2 separate regions of the Homo sapiens genome follow, and region 2 is linked to region 1. The links are contacts of gene promoters, found by promoter capture Hi-C in human tissues and cell types (Jung and others, 2019). All regions are on one chromosome and are shown on one strand. Each heading gives the region's core, a stretch centred on a gene start or on the middle of the fragment in contact. The rest is flanking DNA. Distances are from core to core; before and after follow the strand shown.

Evidence for each region. Contacts are between HindIII fragments. The study calls those that stand out against the background at their distance.
Region 2: a contact is called between a fragment that was not itself captured here and the fragment with the promoter of KLHL31 in region 1, in 1 of the 25 tissues and cell types used here (hippocampus).

What each region holds. Positions count from the first base shown.
Region 1 is chr6:53,664,159-53,667,653 of GRCh38, forward strand. It overlaps KLHL31 (kelch like family member 31), which reads right to left and starts at 1,598. Exons shown (of 3, transcript NM_001003760.5): 1 at 1,443-1,598. The HindIII fragment of the contact is 4,897 bases long and covers 1-3,495 here.
Region 2 is chr6:53,611,765-53,615,490 of GRCh38, forward strand. No RefSeq gene overlaps it. Among named protein-coding and RNA genes, the nearest start is that of LINC01564, 15 kb to the right of the region's middle. RefSeq lists an enhancer at 3,647-3,726. The HindIII fragment of the contact is 4,534 bases long and covers 76-3,726 here.

The DNA.
Region 1 (3,495 bases), core at 348-2,847:
AAATAAAAATACAAGATGTCAAGTTGCATTTGCATTTCAGATAAACTATGAATCATACTTTAGTATAAGTATGTCCCAGGCAGTGTTGAGGACATACTTATGCTAAAAGTTGATTTGTAGCTTACCTGAAATTCAAATGTAGCTGGATGACCTGACTTGTATCTGGCATTCCTGATCAGGGCTGGGTATCAGGTGAGTCCATGAGTCCTGCGGAATAGTCTGAAACATACTGTGTGCATATGTTTATGTGTACTTTCCACACACTGGGCTCAGCGTTTTCATGAGATCCATAACCCGAAATAGATCCAAAATGACTGGACTGAGAATAATGCTGCCAAGCAATGGTACATAATTGGACCCTTGTCTGTAAGTGGGCAAGTCCATGTGAAAGTATTGCACTTAAATTCTTCCTGGCCCCAGCTGATCCCAGATGAAGACCCCCAGAACTGGTTATAGAAAAGAGTTGTTACTTCATATTTGAGAACATTTTCCTTCCCACTGCCCTGCACCCATGCTTCCTGGGAGTCCACAACAGGGTAAACTGGAAAGCCATGTGTGCTAAAGTGTCACTGTCACTCTCATGCCAGTATGAACTGGGATCCCAGAATGTCTTTTTGCCAAAGGGGCGAATCAGCTGCGCCTGCTCCCTGTCCTGGCCACATTCCTATCGCTGCATCTGTCGGGGCTCATCAGCCCTACCTCCAGGAATAGAAACCCTCCTGGCTTCTGTGGCTTGCCATTTTAAGTCCAACCTCGGGGTGGGGTGTAGGGGGGTGGTTTCCACTTCACCATTACACTTCCAACATGATTTTTAATATAAAATATATGTCAGCATAATGATATGTGCACATTTAAGACAAAAACCTATTTTTTAGCCAAATAACAAATTTTTTTTTTTTTTTAGGAAGGATATTTCCATTTCATCAATAGGTTATATTTCTGGGAATTCAGAGTTGTCTGAGTTTTGTGCTACAGATTTAGTTAAAACTGGTAACATTTCATCCAAACTGATCAGTAACAAATGTTAAAATGATTCTTGATAAAAATAAAGGTAGAATTCTAAACTTTGTGAACAAAGCCTAAGAATTTTCTCTCCTTCTCCTTCTCTATAAAGTAGTGAAAGAAAAATATATCTTAAGCTTTAGAGATTTAGAATTTTTGTTAGAAATTACAGGTGGTTTTACATTTGTAGGGCATCATTGTCATGCATTTTGTTACCGTGAAGTTCTCCTAACACGTTACATTTCTCAGATTTCAAAAAAATGTTTTCTGTCTCCCAACTTCAGATTAGGGACATGAACCACCTGACCCAGCTGTAGACTCCCTTCAGTAAAATAGCTCTACAACCACAAACACTCAGCCCACCCTCTCCCACCCACACATCCACACACACCCCAGGATCTAGAAGGCAGGAATTGGCGACTCTGGTCCCAGCTCCTTACCCTCCTTGGGTGAAGTGGCAGGTCAACTTGAGATGATGAAGTTTTAGCAGGAGACTCCTCTTGGGAAGGGATCTGTGGAGATAGAGAGAGGGAGAAGGAAAATCCGGTGGGGAGCCACCAGCAGCCACCTGACAAGACCCGGCTGCAGCAATTTTTAGAGTGACCCTTTGCCGTCCCACTGGATAAGGCAGGCCGAGCCTGCGCTTTGGCCCGGGAGCAGAGCAGCGAGCGCCCTCCTCTCCGTCTTTGGCCTTCAACTCTCCAGCCAGCCGGGGGCAGGGGGCGGGGCTCCGGTTGGTGGAGAGGGGTTGGGTTTCTTGAACTGACCAGCTGCTCAAAATGAAAAAGAAAAGAAAAGAAAAGAAAAGAAAGAAAGAAGGAAAGAAAGAAAGAAAGAAAGAAAGAAAGAAAGAAAGAAAGAAGGAAGGAAGGAAGGAAGGAAGGAAGGAAGGAAGGAAGGAAGGAAAGAAAGAAAGAGAAAGAAAGAAAGAAAGAAAGAAAGTCAAGAGCTCAATCAACCTGTGTGAGAGGAAAGAAAATTAATTCGATGGATGTTTAATTGTTGGAAGCAGGGATTCTAGTAGAGTAAGGAGAAGGGAAGGCTGTGGATTAAAAATTAGTTTTTGGAAAGGTAATTAGCCTGGTCACCTACGGTCTTTTGAGAAGATAGTGGTTATAAATAGCCTATTCTTTATAAGAGGAGCACGTATCTACCAGATATGGTACTTTCTACAGCACCTCACATGTGGTTCTAACATTATTAGGCTCATTTTAGAGTTTAATAAAGTGAGGTTTATGGCCAGCGATTTTCCAGTGATCACAGAGAGGTCTGAGATTAACACACACTCTAGCACACATGCAGGTTGGGAAATATCTACTTTGGCAACACTTCATGAGAAAAAAAATTCAATGATTATAATTGACTACAAATTTTAATGGGCACCAAGAGTGTGAAATGGTTGCTTAAAAAGTTAACATGATATTAAGCTACAATAATAGAAAAATAGATCATGGAAAATAAATGTTCTAATTATTCTTCATTAGTCAGATGATGTGTTAAGCATCACTTTGCTATCTTGGCACTCTGAGAACTTACTCTTCATCCTACAGAGATGGCTGGAACAAAAAAACTTCAGAGGCGGTGCATGTTGGAAACATCTGAAGAGAAGTATGACAAAGAGAGGACTTTTAAGATAAGTGAGACACCTGAGAGCAAGTGTTGTGGGGGCTGTTGTACAGCAAGAGGATTCAGTCAAAATTTCTGTAGCCTAAAATGTCAAAAATTTTAATGTGCAGTAATTCCGGGGAAATACCTTAAAATAAAGAAGAAGAGTGCAGATAACAGCTGGGCTCTAATGATGAAAATGGCAGCCTTGTAAAAGAGCCAGTTCTCTATAATTAGAAGGGTGGAAGTAAAAGAAGTTGCAGGACTGGTGTGACATTGAAGGGACTCTGTCTATGGCTGGGGGCTTGCACTGCATCATCTCTGAAATCTTTCCAACTCTAAGGCTCTGATTCTATATGTGCCAGTCTCCAGTTCACCTGAGACTCTCAATTCACTGGATAGCATCTGTCTATTGACTACTTCTGCTGGAATTCCCACCAATTTTTTAGTAGGAAAAACTATTTGGATTTTTTTTTTAATTCTTTGCTTCTACCCATAGATCTCCAGCACAGAAAGCGCCAGGAGCAAATCAAAGAAGCTTCTATTATGGTTTGCTTCTAAGAAATTCTACTTGGTCCCACCTCCTTGACTCAGGTAAAGGGTCAGAACCTTCCATCTTTGTTTGTTTGTTTGTTTGTTTTTTGTAGAGACAGGATCTCAGTATGTTGTCCAAGCTGGTCTCAAATTCCTGGTCTCAAGTGATCTTTCTGCCTTGGCCTTCAATCCCGTTTTAATTGTAATAAAAGTCAGCCTTATATCAGTATTTATGATAATGATGATATAATGATGGAAAGGGCCTTCAAGAAGATGTTGGTACCAATATTATCTTCTTCAAGGGTTCAAGACTATTAATTCCAGTTTTACTGGAACATCACTGAGATGCTCCTT
Region 2 (3,726 bases), core at 1,093-3,592, 52 kb before region 1:
ACACTTCCCAAGTGACTGACAATAGTAAGCTTTTATTATTTTATGTTTCCATAGTCCATTTCACATATACATTATAGCTATCCTTTTATAAAGGATTTTGAAAGTTTAGAGTTGTAAGAAGCTTTAGCATCTTGCTACTCAAAATGTGGTCCACCAGTCAGCATCTGTATCACCTGAAAGCTTGGGAGAGACGCAGAATCTCTGGCCCGACACCAGGCCTACTAAGTCAGAATGCATATTAAAAACTCCCCGCCCCCAACCGATAATCTGCAGGCACATGAAAATTTGAGAAGCACTGATGTAGTTATTGTCTGACTTAATCACTTACCTGGGGCTTGCACAGCAACCCTGCAGAGCTCTCCCACAGCAACCCCGCAGAGTTGAAGTATGGTTAGTTTATTGTATTTTTGTACCTTACAATACTATATTATACAGTATTTGTATAATACAGTGCTTGTACAGTATAACATGAATATTGAAAAGATAATACATGGAACCTTTTGGTTATCATATTTATCATATAAATAAATGTGTTTAGCTGAAATTTGATAAGCACACAAAACATTCCTAGGGAACTGTTAAATATCATTTGCATTGCAAAGCTGAGAAAAGTATCTGCTTAGATATTTTCAGGCAGAGGATCATCTCAGAGTAACAAACAAGAGCAAAGATGTTTTGTGCAGCTGCTTTACCTTCTACCCTTGTGATATCCTGCAGCAAGGATGCCCCTGAGAGGGCAAATACTAATATTAAATCATACTGGTCAGTGATATTTTGGGGATGAATCCTGGGACTAACTCAGCATTCAAATGTACATAGTGTTTAGAATTTAGGAAGAATTTTTGATGTCTTCATGCTGAGTGACTAATTTATAAAAATGGTTTAAATTAGTCAAATTTAAGCAACATACTTATCTGATATTATCCCCGATTCTTAAAGTTTCAGGATTTCTTTTTTCATTTCTGCCTGCATTCATTTAGTTGTTTATATGATTCCCCTAAACTTTCTGCCAAATTGTATATTTACATTGAAGTCATCTTTCTAACCACAGTTCTTCAATTCCCTATTTAAACCATTGGGTTTAGAGGTGTTTGAGAATTCAGAACTTTTCAAAGTTAGAAGATCCTATTTATTATGTAATATCCCAAGTAGGGTCTGGGGCAGTACTCTTTAATCAAACATGAATATTTCTGCAACATATAAACAATTTACACTAAATCATATGAACGAAGACTTCAAATAGCCTCTCCTTGGGTCACATCAGGTTTTTGTCACAAAATCAGTTACATAAACTTTTCTGTTTTCATAGTTTTCTTTATTTTGTTTTTATATTTTGCAATTGTGGATTTAAAAAGATGGACCTGTGTACAATAACAATATGAGAAGAAATTTTAGAAGTTCTTTAGTTTACCTTTTTTCTCAAAGTAGTAGTAAGGACAGCAAAAATTAATGTGAATGGGTATTTATCCAAAACTAAAATTTTTCAGTATTCCATAACTTTCTCAATATTTAACAAATAATACAGTCATAATATCATGTGAGGCTGAGGCTATCCTTATATCTGCTCATGCCAATTCTCATCCCCTTTCTTTCTAAAAAATAAAGGCTAAACTAAAAATATTTGCTTCACCACAGTGTTGTGCAGCTGGAGGGGCCGTATGATTCAGGAGTATGATCCCATGAGATAGAAATAGAGGGTTTCTGTGAAAGCTTTTGGTTTCCTAACACAGGTCTCTCCCCTTCCCAACTCCCGCTTTCTTCTTCTCCCTGTCTTGAATACAGATGTAATACCTGGAGATGCAGCAGCTATCTTGCAACAAAGAAGTAATAAGCATTAAGACAAAAGCCTCACTCTAAGGGTGGTGGAGGTAAAAAAACAGAAACAGCAGCCTGTTGAACCTCCTTGGACTGCCCCAGACTTCTTGTTTCGTGGGGCAAACTTACTGTTTAAGCCACTGTTTTTGAGTTTCTGTTATTTGTAGCTAAACATATTCCTAAATGCTATAGTATGTCACTACCTTTTTTTTCTCATTTATTTAAATTTATTTATTTATAGACAGGGTCTCACTTTGTTGCCCAGGCTAGATTGCAGTGCACAGTCATAGCTCACTGTAGCCTCGACCTGCTGGGCTCAAGGGATCCTCCTGCCTCTGCCTCCCAAGTAGCTGGGACTACAGGAGCATGCCACCACACCCACCCAGCTAATTTTTTAAATTTTCAGTAGTGTTCCAAACTTGTGTGAGAGTGTAACCACCCAATAGTTTCTTCCTGCCCACTGCACAGACAAAATCAATCCACCAAGGCCAAGTCATTGCAATAAAATTTAATTGACACGAGGCCAGCCATGCCACGTGGGAGATGGAGTTATTACTCAAATCAATCTCCCTGAAAATTTGGAGGCTAGAGTTTTTCAAGGGTGGTTTGGGGAGCCAGGGAGTCTGCTTCTGGGTAGGGCCACAGGACTGGCTAGTGGGGTTTGGCAGGCCTGGGTGGAGACGTTGGTTCATTGGTCGTCAGAAATGCAGAAACCTGAAAAGACATCTCAAAAGGCCAATCTTAGGTTCTATAATAGTGATGTTATCGGCGGGAGTAATTAGGGGAGTTGCAATTTTTGAGACCTCCAGACTAATGGCTGGTAATCGTTTAAGTCTACACCTTAGCAGAATTCAGGCTCCTCTCATCCTAATAACCTGGTGGATGGATTAGCTTTCCTTAGCTTTACAAAGTGGTATAATTTTGGGGAAGCACTATTACCATTTAAACTCTAAACTAAATGTCTCCCAAAGTTATCTTGGCATAAGCCCAGGAATAATTAAGGCCAGTTTGGAGGTTAAAGGCTAGATGGGGGTTGGTTAGTTCAGATCTCATTCACTGTAATAATTTCCTGATTGTTATAATTTTTGCAAAAGTGATCTCAAGAGAAGAAAACTATGTATATGCATATGCATTTTTGTGTATATGAGTAAATATTTCTGTAGAGATGAACAAAAAGGTGATACCTAGCCTGGGCAGCAAAGTGAGACTCTGTCCAAATAAAAAAGTTAAAAATTAGCTGGTTGTGGTAGTGTGTACCTGCAGTCCCTGCTACTCAGGAGGCTGAGGCAATAGGATGGCTTGAGCCCAGGAGTGTGAGGCTGCAGTGAGCTATGATTGCACCGCTGCACTCCAGCCTGGGCAACAGGGAGAAACCCCATCTAAAAAAAAAAAAAGAAAGGTAGTATCATTGGTTGCCTTTGGGTAGAGAAAACAGGTGGCTGAGGATCAGAGCCAGGAGTGAGGCATGGCTTTTGTACATTTTAAATGTATTTTTAAAAATTAAATATATGTATCTTACTGTATGATTTAAATTATATACATTTCAAGAACAGACAAAATGAATTACGGTGATTGAGGTCAGAATACTATTAACTCTATGGGGAGATATTTACTGGAAAGTGGCATGAGGCGGTCTTCTCCAGCTAAGAGATCAGAGATATCCTCTATCTTGAATTAGATGGTGGTAACATAGGTACATGTATATGGAAAAAAAACATCAACTCCATACTACTATTTGTGCACTTGATGTACCTCAGTACAGTTTTAGAGCATATACTTTGAATAATAAGAAAGAAAATTAAGATAATTATTAATATTCTGTGGGCTTCTTGTTCACTATCATCTTAGTTCAAATTTCAACAATTTCCCTAATTTAAAGTTTTTTTAAAAGAGTTTTCATGTGAGAATGTG